Linked DNA regions of Homo sapiens: regions 2, 3, 4, 5 and 6 are each linked to region 1. The links are contacts of gene promoters, found by promoter capture Hi-C in blood cells and fetal thymus (Javierre and others, 2016). All regions are on one chromosome and are shown on one strand. Each heading gives the region's core, a stretch centred on a gene start or on the middle of the fragment in contact. The rest is flanking DNA. Distances are from core to core; before and after follow the strand shown.

Region 1 (2,700 bases), core at 162-2,661:
TCCAAACCCCAGTCCCACTCTGCCTTCTGCCCTCCCCTCCTTAGCCACACCGCAGGCAGGAGGCCCGCGGGCTTCCCAGAGCAGCCATCAGAGCCCTGTCAGAAACGTTAAGGGCTAACTTTTCTCTAGGCAGGCCCAGGGTGTGCAGAGGGAGTGTCTGGGGACCCAGAGGAAGAAGGTCCCCGTTTCTAGGGAGACGCAAGGGCGATGCTAAGTTTAAGAGGCAGGGTAACAAGTCCGGCCAAGGAATCGGGGGTGAGCGACGGGACAGGAAGGCGTGCCCACTCCACAGGAGGATGGGACACACGTGAACAAGCGGCGAGCTGCCCAGGGGCCGGATGCCGCCACCAAGCAAGCGAAGTTGGAGGAAGAGCAACAGCGGAGTGGGCCAACGCAGGACCACCCGTGGTCTCCTCCGCACCTCATCACTGCCCCCCACGCCCAAGCACCCACCCACACACTCCCACGTGCCGTGGCCACTTCCGCCGAGACAGATACTCACCTTTGCCGCCGGCGCGGTCCTGCTGGTCGCCAGCTCCCGCAGACTGCCGGCGGTGCTGCCCGCGGCCGCGGAGAGGAAAACCGGGGAACCCGGGGTGCTGCCTGCCGCGCCGCCCCCGCCGCCCGCGAGCGTGGGGGCCGCACTCTGGCCTGGGATGGGACGCGCGGGCGGGCTGCCGCCGGGGCTGGTGCCCGCGCGGGGCCGCTGACGGATGCCGTCCAGCAGTCGCACCAGCAAGATGTTGGCGGGCAGTTCGTCCACGCCGCAGCCCACCAGGATGCGGCACTCGGGGCAGCGCAGCTCGTGGCGCGAGCACACGATGCTCTCCAGGCAGCGGCGGCAGAAAGTGTGTTGGCATGGCAGCACCTTGGCCGTGGTGTCCAGGCGCTCCAGACACACGGAGCACTCCAGCAGGTCCAGCAGCGACGACTCGTCCATGTCCTCGCCCGCCCCCGCGGCGGTGGCCGCCGCCCGACGCCGCCGTCGCTCGCCTGGCCTGTCCTCGTCGCCCTCGCTCTGCGCAGCAGCGGCGGCCGCCTTGGATGCGCACAGCCAGGACGCTCCGAGCAGCATGGGGGAGGCGCCCGCAGCGGTCTCGCGCGGCTGCCTAGGTCCCGGGGCCGGCGTGGAGCCCGCCACCGGCAGCCAGCATCAGGACTGGGGAGCCGGGCTCCGCCGTGACTTTCTTCACCCCGGCTGGTGGCCCGATGCTAGGGCTGTGGCGGTGCGAAGTGGCTCACCGACCGGCCTGCGTGGCGGGGACCGGCCTGCGTGGCGGGGACCGGCCAGCCGAGCCCGCCCAGTCCTGAGCGCAGCGCCTGCGGCTGCGGGCTACACCTGTCCCGCCGCAAGTCCGCCCCGCGCGGGGGACCGGGGGTGCTGCCGGGCACGAAGCTCAACGGGTTCTGTGCTGCAAGCGGCGGCTCGCGCCTGGGAGACCAGCGGCAGGAAGTGCGGGCAGCGGCCGGCCAGGTCCCCGGGGAGGCCGGGGCGCGGCGTGCACGCTCCTCCGCGCAGCTGGCGAGCCGCACCGCCCCCGCGGCACCTCCATGCGCCCCTGGCCTGCTCGCTAGTCGCTGTCCTCCAGAGGATTCAGCAGGACCGTTCCTCTTCCTCGGCCGCGAGCACGTGCGCGGGGGTGCGCGCGGAGGTCACGGTCACTGCGGGGCTCAGGGAAGGAGGCGCCGTGCCTGCAGGACTTCCCTTCGCTTGGGCGCAAGCCGGCGATTAGCCTGGTCCCCTAGGACATCTCCAGGGCTCCGGGGAACCTCTCCTGCGCAGGCTTGGCCCTGCCTCCTCCAAGCGTCCGAGTCTTTTTCGGCTTTTCGTGAGCCTCAGAGAGGGACGTTTCCTGCCAACGCTGCTGCGAAGGAAAGTTTGGGCGGCGTTATCCCGACTGCCTTCCTCGCCAGCGCCGGCGAGCAGCTTGGGGACACAGCCGACGCCCGGGCATCCTCCCCGACGACCCCCCGGAGCGCTCCCAGTTCAGACTCCTTTCCGAGAAGCGCGCAGAAGTGACAGCCCCGGAGCTTCGTTCCGGTGTAGGTGTGGGGATGCGCCGCAAGGCAGGAGGGGAAGGCGCTCCAGTTGAAGGGGGCACCCCGGGGCCCGCGCCGACTCCTCCCGGCGCAGCCTTGGCTCGCCGGAGTCGCGGGTCGGAGGCTGGCGCCGCTGCCCGCCGACCAGCACCCTGGCGCCAGGCGCCCGGCTCCACGCCGCACCCTTGGCGACGCTGTGCGAGGGGCTCTAGCGCCCGCCGCGGCGCAGTCTCGTGAACCCCCGCTCCAATTTTTTCCTACGGAGGCGCAGAGGAGGGTGAATTCGCGCTCTCCTTCCCGACGCCCCGGCTTCTGGGAGCGTCAGAGCAACGGAAGTACGTACAGGAGGACCGAGAGCAGCAGGGAAGTTTGGCGGTGGGCTGGGGTCGGCGGCGAAGATTCCCTGCCGTGCGCTGCCCCCTCGTGGCCGCTTTGCGTTCCCGTCGGGAAGGGCTGGGTTCCAGTCCAGGGCCCAGCACAAACCAGGATTGGTTGGACGCTGCACAGCGAGTTCAGTCAGGGCTAACATCAGAAGAGTCGTGGGGGGCCTGCCTATCGGCCAGCCTGTCCTTGTGGTTTGTGAAGTTGTATGATCTTTCTGTTATTATTAAGGAAAAAAGTAGTATTTGTTGAGGCTAAAAGGCCAAGAGCGTGCTATAT
Region 2 (2,700 bases), core at 116-2,615, 280 kb before region 1:
CAGGTTCTGGGATCAGCACTTGGACATGTGTGGGGGCCATCAGTCCCTTCTCCACCAACAAGATTAGGTCTGAAGGACGTTGAGGGAGGAGCATGGGCCGAGTTTCTAGCCTTGGCCAGATGGAAATGCTGCTGGAGAGACAGGAACAAGAGACCACAGAGGCCATGGGCTCAGTGCTGGACACGCAGTGTTTGGTGTGCCTGGAGATGTCTCAGTGTGGATGATGAGGGTGCTGGTAATGCCAATCAGGAGCTCAGAAGGGACTGGCCTGGGCAGCAGATCTGGGGTCATGTATGTATAGCTGATCTATGAGGCAATGCAGTCTTGTGGCAAAGCCCTTAGCTCCCAGGTGTGTGACCTGTGTTTGTGACCGTAGCCAAGATGGCGTCTGTGAGCCTCTGATTGCTCCTCGTGTCCATTGAGGGTCATGAACTTCTGCTCTGACCATGATGGTAACAGGGGCCAGGTTTACCCTCCTGCCTGAAAAAACTGAAAAACCAGATGAAACCTGAATCAATAGCTCCCAAGACTATAGAAATCAAGCAGTGGAGGACAGAGTCCCCAAGACATGAGAAGATGGGGTTGTGGCAGCTTGCATGGTCTAGACAGCTGGAGTATGAAGTCAGACAACCCACAGGCTATAAAGCAGTCACTCTAAGTACACAGAATAGGCCCTCAACAAAGGCTCGTGATCGTTGTCCTGAAGCCAACAGGGTAGACGGTGCAGTGGCCTGGGAGACAGTGAGGAGGGAGCATGCCCTGGCCCCATCTGCGGGACACCACCCAGAAGAGGGCCCTGAAGGAGGCCAAGATGGGGCAGCCCAATAAACAGAAGGAGACCCATAGCCCAGGGGAGATGGTGCTTCAGAGGGAATGTCATTGTCCATTGAGCTGCATGCTGTGGAATGGCCAAGGAAGCCAAGGACCTAGAAGGACCCACTGGTCTTGGGAATGCTGACATGCACAGGCGCTTCCTGGGGCAGGTGACTGCCCCTGCTGGACCACTGGTGGGGAGTTACACCTCTTGATCCCACTCATGGGATGCGGAAGACCCCAGTGTGCTCCCTGCAGGGAAAGCCCTCACTCCTGGCTTGGGCCAGTGGACCCACAGTCCCCTGGTTTCTGTCCCATTCTGCCATAGTTAGTAACAGAGAAGTCTGCAAACTCAGGTCCTACAAGGCATGGCCCTCATGACATGTCTATGCTGTGTGGAGGGCTGGTGGGGGCAGGCGTGCTGCCCCAGAGCACAGAATAGGGAGGGGAATGTGGGGGCCAGAGACGTTCTCATACAGCCCCAGGTCCTGGTGATTTGGGCTTGTAGACAAAGCTGTTCTCCATTCTAGAGCGGGAGAGACAGACAGGAAGACACAGAGACACAGAGAGAGACAGAGGTAGACAGACAGAGATAGAAAGAGACAGACAGACAGAGACAGGGCAGGAAAAAAAGCCTGTAGCCCCGGCAGTTTCCTGTTAAGAATGAATCCTAAAATAACCAGACAGGCCTGGGGTGGTGGCTCACGCCTGTAATCCCAGAACTTTGGGAGGCCAAGGCAAGCAGATCACCTGAGGTCAGGAGTTCGAGACCAGCCTGGCCAACATGGTGAAACCCTGTCTCTACTAAAATACAAAAATTAGCTGGGCATTGTGGCAAGCACCTGTAATCCCAGTTACTTGGGAGGCTCAGGCAGGAGAATCGTTTGAACCCATGAGGCGGAGGTTGCAGTGAGCTGAGATCACGCCACTGCACTCCAGCCTGGGCGACAGAGCAAGACTCTATCTCAAAAAATATATATATAAAATAATGATAATCAGACAAGTCAGAAAGGAGGTACAGGTAAGGATTTCGCAGCAGCACTGTTTATGATACGAAAAACCTGCACTCCTGAAGTTCCAGGGTGTGGGGCTGGCAGGCTGACAAGGACACAGAATGCCCCACTGCCGCCTGTGCCGTGGTCTCCATGGACAGGCCTGGAGGGCCATGTAGGGTATGCAGAGTGGAAATGGAGGTGACAGCATTGCATATGAAGGCTTATCTAATTTCTGACAGTGATACGTGTATTTTCATGGCAAGAAGTCAGGAAACTTACATACCAAACCATAACTTTGCTCCTTTGGGGAGTTGCCTTTTGGGATAATTTTATTATTTTTTAATCTACACTTTAATATCAAGTGACAATGGTTTCCTGAAACATTTCCACAGTGGTATGAGAAGAATAACAGAGTTAACACTTGAGGTCTGGCTGACGGTAAGCCCGTATCTTTCTCGATCCCCCATGTGCCATCTTTGTCAGGGGATCCTGGGAGCTGACAAAGGGCAGGGGTGACCCTGCAGCACCAGCAGGGGCTGGGCTGGCAGTTCTGTGCTCCCAGGCACTGGCACTCTGCTCTGCAGCAGCGGGAAGAGTGGGAACCTAAGATGATAGGCACGCACTGGTCCTGCTGTTGTTACCATGCCTGCTGTCCTGTTCAGATAAATGCTCCAGAAACAGCCAAGCTGTCCCAAACCAGCATAGCACAAGCAAAGCACAGCCAGAGCCACGCTGGGGCCACACTGGGAGGGTGGCCTGCCTGAAGCCTGCCCCGGCACTTGGATCTCCACCTCCCAATGTCCTGGAGCTGCTCAAGCCATACTCCAATGAAAGGGGGGCAATGTGTTTGGCCAGGAGAGACCAAGGAGACTGTGTTTTGTCTGCTGGGCAG
Region 3 (2,700 bases), core at 120-2,619, 340 kb before region 1:
CCAAGAGGCTCTGGCTCTGCAGGGCCCAACCCCAGCTCCAGGCTCCCAGTGGTGCCCAGGCGTCGAATGGGGCCAGCCCAGGCCTGTGTGAGGCGCTCGTATGTCTAGGCAGGAAGCCGCTTCCCTGGGAAAATCCATCACAGAGCTTTGCAAGAGTTAACTTGAGTTAATGCTGTTAAATGAGGGGCGATTAAATGCCAGGCTGTCAGTTCTCTTTAGATTCTTGGGACTCGCATCTGAAAGGCTGCAACACCATGTGACCCTGTCTCCTTGCCATCTCAGCCAACACATTATCTTTTCACTAAGGTAGGAAAGGCCCCACGAGTCGGGTAGAATTTATAGCACCACATTCATTCATTTAAAATTGCTTCAAAGGAGATTAGGCCAAAGGTAGGACAGACAGAAATAAGAGGCTGGAGCAGGGCTGTCTGCCCTGGGATATGTCTGAGTGTGTCACGACCCTGTCCATTAGGATAACTTTGCTGTGTGTTGGATTTCCAACGGGCGTCTGGCTGGCTTTCTGTAGGACAAATACAACACAGCCATAAATTATTAGATCAAATGGAATGCATTCAGATGAAATCTCTGTAAAATCTGGCCTCCTTCTGAAGGATGTCTGGAATGAAACAGGAAAAATTAAACACACTATTATTTAGTCAGGTATGGCAAGCTCACTTCCTGAATTTTGTTTTTAAATGAAACAGATGGATGGAAATCACTTCATCCAACCAGAAGGCAGCCGCAGGTCGGTTCATCAATTGGATCGGGGTTTCTGAGGCAGCAACCGTAAATCAAAGCTCTTCTTTCCACAAGTCCTTCCTGATGGCTGCCAGCTTGCCAAGCCCTGACGGGAAGCCCCGTCGGGAAGCCCCGCAAGCTCTGCAGGATGGTTTGGATTTCCTCTTTCTGTGCTTCTTAAGGAAGATTGCTTCCAGGACACCCTGCATGCACACCGGCCCGAGACCACCGAGAGTGCAGGTGAGGAGGGCCCGGGAGGCCCCTGGCCGGGTCCTCTCCTGCCACCGTCTTCCTGGAGCAGCCCAGACCCTGGCCAGGTGGCACCTCCCTGAATAAGTGCCCTGATTTGGGCTTTTATCCCTATCTAATTTTTAACTGGGGACTGCTCCTACATTTCTATAAGGAGCTGCTACCATGAGGTCACAGGTGGTTGTTAATCATATTAACTAATTAATAATAATTAACAATCTAATTAATAATTAGAAAAGGATGGGAATTTGAAAGAAGCTGAGATGTCAGAATCCAGGTGCACACTGTGCTACAGGGCCACACAGTGCAGGGGGCCCAGGACTCTGCTTCTCCCTGAATTGGCAATATAACCATGGAGGAAAATGGCCTGCTTCAGACCAAGTTACATGAACTGCTGTTCACACAGCCCCTGCCTTCTAGAGAACTGCCAGGCATCTGCTCTCCCTGTGTCTGCATAGTCTCAGCAAATAGAGTGTGGAAAAAGTTTAACAAGACGTGCCCCATGCAAAAAGGCAGGACAAGCTATCCAGGACTGTGCATTAGTCTATCTCCTATGGCTAAGCTCTTGGGACCGTCTTATTAGGTATGTGAGGCTGAGACAGCAAGGGGGTGAGTGGAAAAGAAAGAGACTTAGACCCCGCCCCAGCATGTGTCCTGGAGCAGGTGGCTTGGACAGCAACCTCCTCACCCATGGAATACAACAGTGTCTGGGCCTACATGAGCTGTTCCAATGATGAATTTTGCCACTGACTGATATGGTTTGGCTCTGTGTCCCCACTCAAATCTCATCTAGAATTGTAATCCCCATGTGTCAAAGAGGGACCTGGAGGGAGGGGACTAGATCACGGGGGCAGTTTCTCCCATGCTGTTCTTGTGATAGTGAGTGAGTTCTCATGAGATCCAATGGTTTTATGAGGATTCTTCCCCCTTCACTTTCTCTTCTCTCTCCTGCCGCCTTGTGAAGAAGGTGCTTGCTTCCCCTTTGCCTTCCGCCATGATTGTAAGTTTCCTGTGGCACCCCCAGCTGAAACTGAGAGTCAATCAAACCTCTTTCCTTTATACATTACTCAGTCTCAGGTATTAATTTCTTTTTTTTTTTTTTTTTTTTTTTTTGAGACAGAGTCTGTCGCCCAGGCTGGAGTGCAATGGCACGATCTCGGCTCATTGCAAACTCTGCCCCCTGGGTTCAAGTGATTCTCAGCCTCCCAAGTAGCTGGGATTAGAGGCACCTGCCAACACACCCAACTAATTTTTGTGTTTTTAGTGGAGATGGGGTTTCACCATGTTGGCTGGGCTGGTCTCGAACTCCTGACCTCAAGTGATCTGCCCTCCTCGGCCTCTCAAAGTGCTGGGATTACAGGCGTGAGCCACCGCACCCAGCCTAGTCTCTGGTATTTCTTTACAGCAGTGTGAAAATTGACTAATACACTGACTCTGCCTCAGGCAACAGAAGAGATTTCTTATCATGAGGAAGAAGGAATGAAATGTCAGCACCCTTTGTTTGCTGTGAGCTGACTTCCCTGCAAAGGGTCTCTCTAAGCTGTGGCCTGTGGAACAGGGGTGGCTGAGCCGAGGCCTCTACTTCCTGCACATCTGCACCTCTGGCTCTGCTATTTCTGTGATGACCCATCCTCCACCAGCCCCGGCCACAGCAGTTTCTAGGCACCCCATGCGTGGCACTGTCAGAGCCAGTCCAGGGAGCTTGGTGTAACT
Region 4 (2,700 bases), core at 157-2,656, 360 kb before region 1:
AGACACAGATGGCGGGGAGCGTGACTTCTTCTTGGTGGATGCTCCGGCTAGAAGCTTCAGGAGCCCACTCTTCTTCTCTTTCTGGGGAGACACACAAGATGGAAACCAAACAGGTGAATGCTTCCCAATGCCCTTGCTGTCAGAGAGAGGGGAATGCATCTTCCTATGTGGAACTTTATTTTTAAATTTCTTATTTTTTCAGACAAAAGACTTTACCACTCACAGCAACAGCAGTAGCCAGAGTACCAGCATTTTCTTGCACCAGTTCCCTGAACCCCAGTTCCCACGGGTGAACCAGTGAGGGCCAGGTGACGCTTGCAGGCACACCAGGCTGTGTTAAAGCAGAGGACCTGGAGCTTCGGGACACCAAATCCTCTCTACTGGACTGTGAGGATGCTGGCCCTCTGCTCCGGAGTCAAGCAGTAAGCATGCCTGCTCTTTGCTTTGAAGACTGACATTATTTCTATTTTCCAAGGCTGGTGCCTACATGGACATCTTGAAAAGATAGGCCAGCAGATGGCATCTCAGTTGTAAGATGGGTAGAAGGGTGAGAGACCCATGGAGAATGGTTCCATCAGGAAACTTTAAAGATAACCTTGTAAAGTGGCTCAGAGGAGGAAAACAAAGCTAAGACCAAGAGCTCATCCAGGCTGGGCACGGTGGCTCATGCCTGTAATCTCAGCAATTTGGGAGGCCAAGGTGGGCAGATCACTTGAGGTCAGGAGTTCGAGACCAGCCTGGCCAACATGGTGAAACCCTGTCTCTACTAAAAATACAAAAATTAGCTGAGTGTGGTGGCACTTGCCTGTAATCCCAGATACTCAGGAGCCTGAGGTGGGAGAATAGCTTGAACCCAGGAGGTGGAGGTTGCAGTGAGCTGAGATTGCGCCACTGCACTCCAGCCTGGGTGACAGAGCGAGACTCCGTCCCCCCCGCCCACCCCCCGCCAAAAAAAACCTTGTCCGACACTTGTTTTCCTTTCTCTTCCAAAATCTAGCAGAAATGTCCAAAATAGGCCCCGAGGCCCCCAGGGCAGGCCAGTGATGCCATTCTCAGAGAAGGATGCTGCTGACGGGCCATCCCCGACAACACAGCCCTCTCTGTCACGGGACCCTGGCCAAGCCTGGCAACGTCATTGTCTGTGTAGAGGAACCAGCAGTCAATGTCATCTGCTTTCTCCTCCCCCAGCTCTTCTAAGTGGACTTTGTAGGACAGGTGACACGGTTCCTGATGGGACTTTCCGTGAGGCCCAAGCCACGCTGGGGTCTGGTTGTCTAAGAGCACAACTGCTCCGGCCCCAGCCAAGTCCCCCCAGGCCACATGCCTGGATTGTTGTTGCAGCTGTACCAGGGTCTGGGGGCCTGTGGCTGTGGGATACTGCTTAGTGCCCGGTGAAGGGTCTCCACCCGATAAGGTGTCTAAAGGGACCATCCCCATCACCCTTGGTGACCAGCATTTGTTCCACTGTATTCATTAATCCCACTGCATTCAGAGCCTGTGCCCCAGGCACTGCTGCTTATGCAATAGAGAGGGAAAGAGATATAATGAAGGTGTGCCCTGGGCAAGTGTGGATCCCAGCCTCCAACTCCACTGCCTGAGTCTCGGCCTTCGCTCCCCACTTTTCTCAATGTGTTTCCTCCAAGGCTGGACTCATCCTGGAGGTCAGCTGTTCCTGCTTTCAGGCTCTGTACTGACAGTCCATGGGGAGTTCTGGGTGATTTCAGGAGGAAGAGGCGGCCCAGCTCTGAGCCATGCAGCACGGGGATCCAGATACCTGACTCCGCTACTGGGCTTGCAGCCTCCCGGCCTATCTCCCCTCTGCCTCACTCTCCCTCCAATAACTTCCTGAAGGTCTTGTGCACCGTGCCAGGCCCTGGAGGTTGTGAGCAATAGGAAACAGCCTAGAGCAATCAGTTAGACATGGATTTCGTTGCAGCCCTTCATGTGCTGGCAGCTCAAAGTGTGGTGTTTCCCGAGTCTAGTTCTCAGAGAACTCTTGTTGGCGGCACAACTTGAGGGAGAGTGTTCCCAGGAACACACATCGGGAACTGCTTGGGTAGAAACTAGAAAGGAAAAGAAGAAACCGTGAGGGGTCGGGGGCAGAACCCTGGGATCTGAGTGGGGTGCCTGGGGGCAGGGAGTGAGGAGGCTTGTTCAGGCCACGATGTAGGCAGGGCATAAGGCCTGGGGATGGGAGACCCTGCAGCTGGGCCCGTCAGCCCCTCCGCAGGCCAGGAAGGAAAGAACTGCAGTACCTGGGGTGGGAACTGGCTCCCCAGGAGGCCTGAACCCACAGCAAGAGTTCTTGATGAGAGGGTGACCTTGCCTCCAGGGGACAGGTGGCAATGTCTGAAGACATCTGGGCTGTCACAACTCAGGGGTGCTGCTGGCATCTGGTGGGCAGATCCCAGGGATGTTGGTAAACATACTCCAATGCAAGGGAACCCCCCATGGCAGGGTTATCTGGCCTCAAATGTCATCAGTGCTAAGGCTGGGATCCCTAGGTCACAAGGACAGCAGGCCAGGATGCGGGGACAGAAGCCAGGCCTGCCCCAGGTGTCCCGGCGGAGCCCACTCTGCAGGCTCTGGGGCTGCTGGCCGCTCCTCCCCTCCTGGCAGGCAGGAGACCTGGGTGGCCTTGCGTTGTCCAAAGGAAAAGGAATTAGCCTTTCTCTGCCCACTTCTGTTTCCTCTTCACCA
Region 5 (2,700 bases), core at 179-2,678, 320 kb before region 1:
GCTGAGCAGTTGGCAACGAGGCCCTCCCAGGGCTGCCTGCTACCTCTCCCGTCCCTGGCCCTCATCTTCGGGCCATGTCCCCTGGCCTCTGCTCAGGCTGACCCTCAGCCAAGGATCCTCCCATCTGTGCCCCGGGAAGTCTCCCCTGACCTGGGCTGACCAGGCGCCTTTGTCGGTGACCCTCTGTTCCCACACGCAGGTCAATCACCCACCCTCTCCTGCAATCAATCGCCTGTTTACCTGTACAGTGACCTGTACTATACTCTGGCTCCTCCAGGCCAGGGTTGACCTTTCCATCATTATGAACCGTGTGCCTGCGCTCTGCCAGGTACATCCTCATGCTCTTTGCAATACACAGATGAGTCAGGGATTGGGGCACAAGTAAGAGAGTGAGTGATGGCCGGTCGGGTGGTTAGGGATGCCAACTGCACGCAGCCCATTGCACCCTTCTCTTCTGGGTGACTCTCCCCTGGACTTAGGTACCCTGAGGGTTCGTATCACCTGGTGCTGATGTGCTCACACAGTTTCAAAACCAGAAAACTGTCACGGATGGACACAATAGGCAGTGTTCCATGGTTGTTTCAAGCACAAAATTCATTTTTAAGTGCAAAAGGATAACTTAAATCCTGAAGACCACCTTTTAAAACCAGATTTGAGTTCTACTGTGTAACTTGTGGGTGTTGGGGGCCTGGCCACAGGGCAGCCCCTGCAGGGAGCAATATGATCAGGCAGGTGGGCAGGAAGAGACCTGGGAGAGTAGGCTGGAGAGGTTCCTGCATAGGCTGGCAGATGCCTGGGCCCAGAGAGGAGCTCTGGTTCAGGAATGGGTCTGGAGAAAGAACTGCCACTCTGTCTGCACTTGTATTATCCCCAGAGGCCTGCACACCACATCGGGCCACGCAGGGAACAGAGCTCAAAGGCCCAATCCCCCTGGATATAGCAGCAGAGCACCAGCCTCCCGGGGACCAGTTTCCCGGGGACCAGCCTCCCGGGAATAGCCTCCCAGGGACCAGCCTCCCAGGGACCAGCCTCCCGGCACCAGCCTCCCGGGACCAGCCTCCTGGCACCAGCCTCCCGGGACCAGCCTCCTGGGACCAGCCTCCTGGCACCAGCCTCCCGGGACCAGCCTCCCAGGGACCAGCCTCCTGGCACCAGCCTCCCAGAACCAGCCTCCCAGCACCAGCCTCCCAGGGACCAGCCTCCTGGGACCAGCCTGCCAGCACCAGCCTCCTGGGGACAAGCCTCCTGGCACAAGCCTCCCGGGAACCAGCCTCCTGGGACCTTGACCATAGCCACTGACACCACACAACACAGAGCTGGTTTTGGGGCTTCTTCCTTCTCCACACACAGGGATATGGCGCGTAAATCTCCCACGCTCCTAGGAGAAAATTACTCCCTACTCTACGGCGCCCAGGAGCTGTATCCACCCTGCCTTCTCTCTGGTACATGCATGGAAGGGCCTGGGTGGAATTTAGCAGCACTAGCGCTAGGAAACTGCGCTGCACTGAGGTATATGCATCAGTGGATGTGGGAGTGAGGAGCTCACTGTCTTTTCCCAAAGAAAATTTAACAGAAACAGACTGGAGAATACTGCCAAATGCTTTAAAAAACCTTTGCCATAATTAGACATGTGTACATCTATGATCAAGTTGCCCAAAGTTAGGAAGCCTGTTTAGTGTAGTCATGGAGGGGTGGGGCTCAGGAAGCGGCCTGCAGGGAGTGTGCTGGCTGCAGCCCCCTAGCCCAGCACAGTCTGCTGGTGCAGGTCACACTGGCTCACTTGCTTCTGAGCAGTGGACTAAAATGACCATCATTTCTGCTCTTCTGCTGCAAATGGCAGCTGTAAATGCCTTGGGCCCTGCTGCAAATTAGGAGAAATTCAAGTGGGAACACAGATGGGCAAAATGTTCACAGGTGGTTTTGTAGACCAGTGCTTGTCTTTGTTGTTTATGAGAGGTGGGAATGAAAAGCACACACAATGTGTGGGAGGGCAATGTGCTTCTCTGCTGGGGTTTGCTGAACCTCTGGACATAAGCTCAGAGGGCCTCACAAAAACCACTTCCCCTCCTGCCTGGAGTGCAGCGTGGACTGCTCCCACAGCATGTGTCCAGCCCCAAGCGTGGCCTACGCACTTCTGCTGCCCACAGAGGCTCGGGAGCTATCAGGGGAGGAGGAGGCTGAGCCACTGTATGTGCAGCTTGCATGGCAGGGCGTCCCTGCATGTCGCCTTTCATCAAGAGGGATGTTGGGGTGTCTTCTGGACTCAACTGTTCTTTGCTGATATAGCACAACTGTTAGAGGGCATAAACCTTAAGAGAAAGCGAAATATTTACAAAGTGTCTAACAGGCAGGCTAGGAACAGACTCAGCTGGTGTTCATTAGCTTCACACTTAGGTGGGTGATGGGGAACAGCATCATCCTCCGTGTAGATTCGTACAGGACGTAATGTCATAGAAACCCACTCAGCAATGGTATTATTGAAGCCAGTCCCATTTGCTTCACAAACTAGAGAGAGGGAATTCTTGGGCAAAGAACTAGAAATGCTTAAGGAACTATTACAGCCCCCACTTTCCAAGTCTGCCCCTGGTTGTTTCTGAGCAGCTCAGAAGAAGGAAGAATGCTTAAGTGAGAGGGTAGGACTGTGAATCCCACCTCTCCCTCCTGATGAGACCCAGCCACATCTCATAACAAGGGCTGCAG
Region 6 (2,700 bases), core at 116-2,615, 410 kb before region 1:
CATAAGCCAGAGTGAATGATACTACAAGTTGAGCATCTCTAATTCAAAAATCTGAAATCCAGAAGCTTCAAAATCTGAATCTTTTTGAGCACTGACTTGACCCCACAAGTGGAAAATTCCCCACCCGACACCTTTGCTTTCTGATGGTTCAGTTTAAACAGATTTTGTTTCTTGCACAAAATTTTTGTATAAATTACTTTCAGGCTATATGTATAAGGTGGATGTGAAACATGAATTATGTAATTAGAGTCGGGTCCCGTTGTGTATATGCAGATATTCCAAACCTGAAATCCAAAACACTTCTGGTCCCTAGCATTTTGGATAAGGGATACTCAGCTTGTACCTATATATTCATATATATTCACTGTTGTTAGAAATGTTTAAGTTGCTGTTCTGTGATGAATCTAAATCTTTTCTCTTGCTACCAAGCTATTGTCACTGCAGTGCATTATACCAAAGAGCGAAGTCAGTGCCACTGAAAATACAGAACCCATTAATATCGTGGCTATCTGATTACATTTATATTCCAAGATGAACCTTTTTTATATATGCTAAAAATTTTGGGGAATATGTTTTGGGATGTATTATGGAGCTAAAACTCTAACCTCTTAATAGTTTTATAGAACTTAAAAATTTTTTATACAATTACCCAATTGGTGATATGATCTTAAGCTTTTGTGTCAGATTATTTAATATGATGACTTCATGCTTTATTATGCCTTATTATGGCTGACGTATTACTGTGGTGAAACAAAATATCTTTAAAAGTTAAAACATCCAGATATATAAGCTATTTTTTCCTAAGGATAAAGTACCTTTGAGCATGAGTGTATCACAGCTTTCATTAGGAAAACTTTTCATTACATACTTGTTTAAACTCTGTCTTCCAGGGTAAAAATAATAAGGTTGAATCATTTTATTAAAAATACTTTTTAAGAAAATAACTATGAACATCTGAATATTAAAGATATAAAAATGCACATAATTCATATTTCAGGTGGTATTTGCATTCAGTGCCTTACTGGTATTCTCAGAACATTTTAATGATTTCTAACATTTCTTAACAGTCATAGATATATACATTTTCATTTTTTGTACTTGAATATTCTAAATAAAACTGACATTTACTCTTGACAAATAAAACATATATTTACTAAAATGTGTTTAATTTTCCTTTCTGAAAACTCTCATTTTAAAAACGTTCATTTAATTATGTATTTGAATTATTTTGGAGATGAGGTATTTTATGAGTATTTTCAGACAATGAAACTTATTAGTCTGTGTCAGATTCTGAGCAATCATAGAGTCATCTAAGTTGTAAATAAAACCTTGCATAGCACAATTTATCTGTATACTTTAAATTTTATTTTTGCATTTGAAATTCACAGATGTCTCTCAGTCTTTTAAAACTTCAGTAAATTAAATTATACATGTCATAGAACAAGCTCAGAAGTTTCTTCGCAAGATCAGTGACACCCAGGTTCTGGTAGGCAGGGAGTCCTGGAGGGTAGGTGACCTGAGGTACAGAGCCAGGCCAGCATCACGGTACTTAGTGCCAGCTGAGCAGACTGTTCACAGATGGGCTCGATGACACTGCGGGAGTGTTTGTTACATATGTGGCTATATTTGACCATACTGTTTATAAAGCAGCTCTCCTTAACTCTGAAGAACGTACTTTGAAGTGTGAGATAGGTTGTTGGAATGGTAAACAGTTATTCAAGTTTCTGGTTGAAAAGAACGTAATAAACCTGCCTGAGACTCTCTAGACTTAACAGCAGGGCGGTCGTTTTGTACTGCTGATGACTGCTGTGAGAAAGCCTCACTCCTGCTTCAGCCGCAATGTGAATTTTTAATTCATTTCATATATTTGGGTTCCATGTAAGATTTTATTTTAAAAGAGTTGAACAACAAAGAAAAAATTTTTTAATGACTTCTTCTTACAAAGCTAATTTATCATCAGGCACAAGATTAGAAAATGAATTATCCACTGAGGCATAATCTCCTGGGAATAAAATAAAGCTAGTCATGTTTTGTTAAAAATTTTTCCCATTAAGCTTATGAAACAGTTGTCTCTAACTAACAGCCGTTAATCCTGGTACGTACTCCCTCCGACTTTTAAAGCCCTTTCACATAGACTAGGATTTGAACTTCAAAGCAACACAAGGAAAAAGCATTACAGGGATTATTATCACTATATTGTGGATGAACTCAGTGTAAGCCCCGTGTTCCTATTGGGCCAGGAAATGGGGACACACACATGACTCAGGTCATCCATGCATCATGGAGCAGCCGGAGCAGGCTGGACAACCAAGTAGGTTTGGAGCAGGGCACTCTCAAAAGGGTGTCTGCCTCTCACAGATCACAAGGAGCCGTCCAAAGAAGTGACTGGTCCTGAAGGACTGGAGCAGTTTATCCAGAGTATGAAAGAAGGAGGCATTCCTAGTACAAGGCACAGCATGTTGTGTGCACTGGAAGGTAGCTGAGCACCATCAGAGTACCAGCAAGGAGTGGGGCTCCGGTAAGGGCCAGGTTTCAGAAGCAGTTAAGGAATGGGTTTATAAATCCCAGGAAAGTTTATAAATCCCGTCTGGCAGGCAGTGGGAGCCATTGAAAGGCTTGGCCTCACAAGGTTAGGTGTTCTCCAGGGTTTATGGGAAGGAGATACTGGCAGGCAGGGGGAGCTGGGCCGGGGCAGGCCAA

The links. The method cuts DNA at HindIII sites, captures the fragments that hold promoters and counts their contacts. A CHiCAGO score of 5 or more calls a contact.
Region 2: a contact is called between a fragment that was not itself captured here and the fragment with the promoter of SH3RF3 in region 1, in 1 of 17 cell types (M2 macrophages). The highest score is 5.7, in M2 macrophages.
Region 3: a contact is called between a fragment that was not itself captured here and the fragment with the promoter of SH3RF3 in region 1, in 2 of 17 cell types (M0 macrophages and activated CD4 T cells). The highest score is 6.3, in M0 macrophages.
Region 4: a contact is called between a fragment that was not itself captured here and the fragment with the promoter of SH3RF3 in region 1, in 7 of 17 cell types (monocytes, M1 macrophages, M0 macrophages and 4 more). The highest score is 7.5, in monocytes.
Region 5: a fragment that was not itself captured here is called in contact with the fragment with the promoter of SH3RF3 in region 1 in 1 of 17 cell types (M0 macrophages); the score reaches 7.0 in M0 macrophages.
Region 6: a contact is called between a fragment that was not itself captured here and the fragment with the promoter of SH3RF3 in region 1, in 1 of 17 cell types (neutrophils). The highest score is 5.1, in neutrophils.

Annotation. Positions count from the first base shown.
Region 1 is chr2:109,127,916-109,130,615 of GRCh38, reverse strand. SH3RF3 (SH3 domain containing ring finger 3) reads right to left here and starts at 1,411. Exons shown (of 10, transcript NM_001099289.3): 1 at 503-1,411. The coding sequence starts at 1,075. SH3RF3-AS1 (SH3RF3 antisense RNA 1) reads left to right here and starts at 497. Exons shown (of 1, transcript NR_029193.1): 1 at 497-2,700. It also overlaps a transcript of RANBP2 not described here. RefSeq lists silencers at 1,396-1,595, 1,626-1,675, 1,686-1,755, 2,136-2,195. The HindIII fragment of the contact is 8,501 bases long and covers 1-2,700 here.
Region 2 is chr2:109,412,213-109,414,912 of GRCh38, reverse strand. All of the region lies in intron 4 of SH3RF3 (SH3 domain containing ring finger 3), which reads right to left. It also overlaps a transcript of RANBP2 not described here. Among named protein-coding and RNA genes, the nearest start is that of MIR4266, 100 kb to the right of the region's middle. The HindIII fragment of the contact is 8,736 bases long and covers 1-2,700 here.
Region 3 is chr2:109,470,607-109,473,306 of GRCh38, reverse strand. The region is part of intron 8 of SH3RF3 (SH3 domain containing ring finger 3); the gene reads right to left. It also overlaps a transcript of RANBP2 not described here. Among named protein-coding and RNA genes, the nearest start is that of SEPTIN10, 140 kb to the left of the region's middle. RefSeq lists an enhancer at 2,442-2,561. The HindIII fragment of the contact is 4,424 bases long and covers 1-2,700 here.
Region 4 is chr2:109,487,986-109,490,685 of GRCh38, reverse strand. SH3RF3 (SH3 domain containing ring finger 3) reads right to left here. Exons shown (of 10, transcript NM_001099289.3): 9 at 1-81. It also overlaps a transcript of RANBP2 not described here. Among named protein-coding and RNA genes, the nearest start is that of SEPTIN10, 120 kb to the left of the region's middle. The HindIII fragment of the contact is 2,700 bases long and covers 57-2,700 here.
Region 5 is chr2:109,451,280-109,453,979 of GRCh38, reverse strand. The region is part of intron 8 of SH3RF3 (SH3 domain containing ring finger 3); the gene reads right to left. It also overlaps a transcript of RANBP2 not described here. Among named protein-coding and RNA genes, the nearest start is that of MIR4266, 140 kb to the right of the region's middle. The HindIII fragment of the contact is 8,803 bases long and covers 1-2,700 here.
Region 6 is chr2:109,541,441-109,544,140 of GRCh38, reverse strand. SEPTIN10 (septin 10) reads left to right here. Exons shown (of 11, transcript NM_144710.5): 11 at 1-1,342. It also overlaps a transcript of RANBP2 not described here. Among named protein-coding and RNA genes, the nearest start is that of SEPTIN10, 71 kb to the left of the region's middle. The HindIII fragment of the contact is 1,382 bases long and covers 675-2,056 here.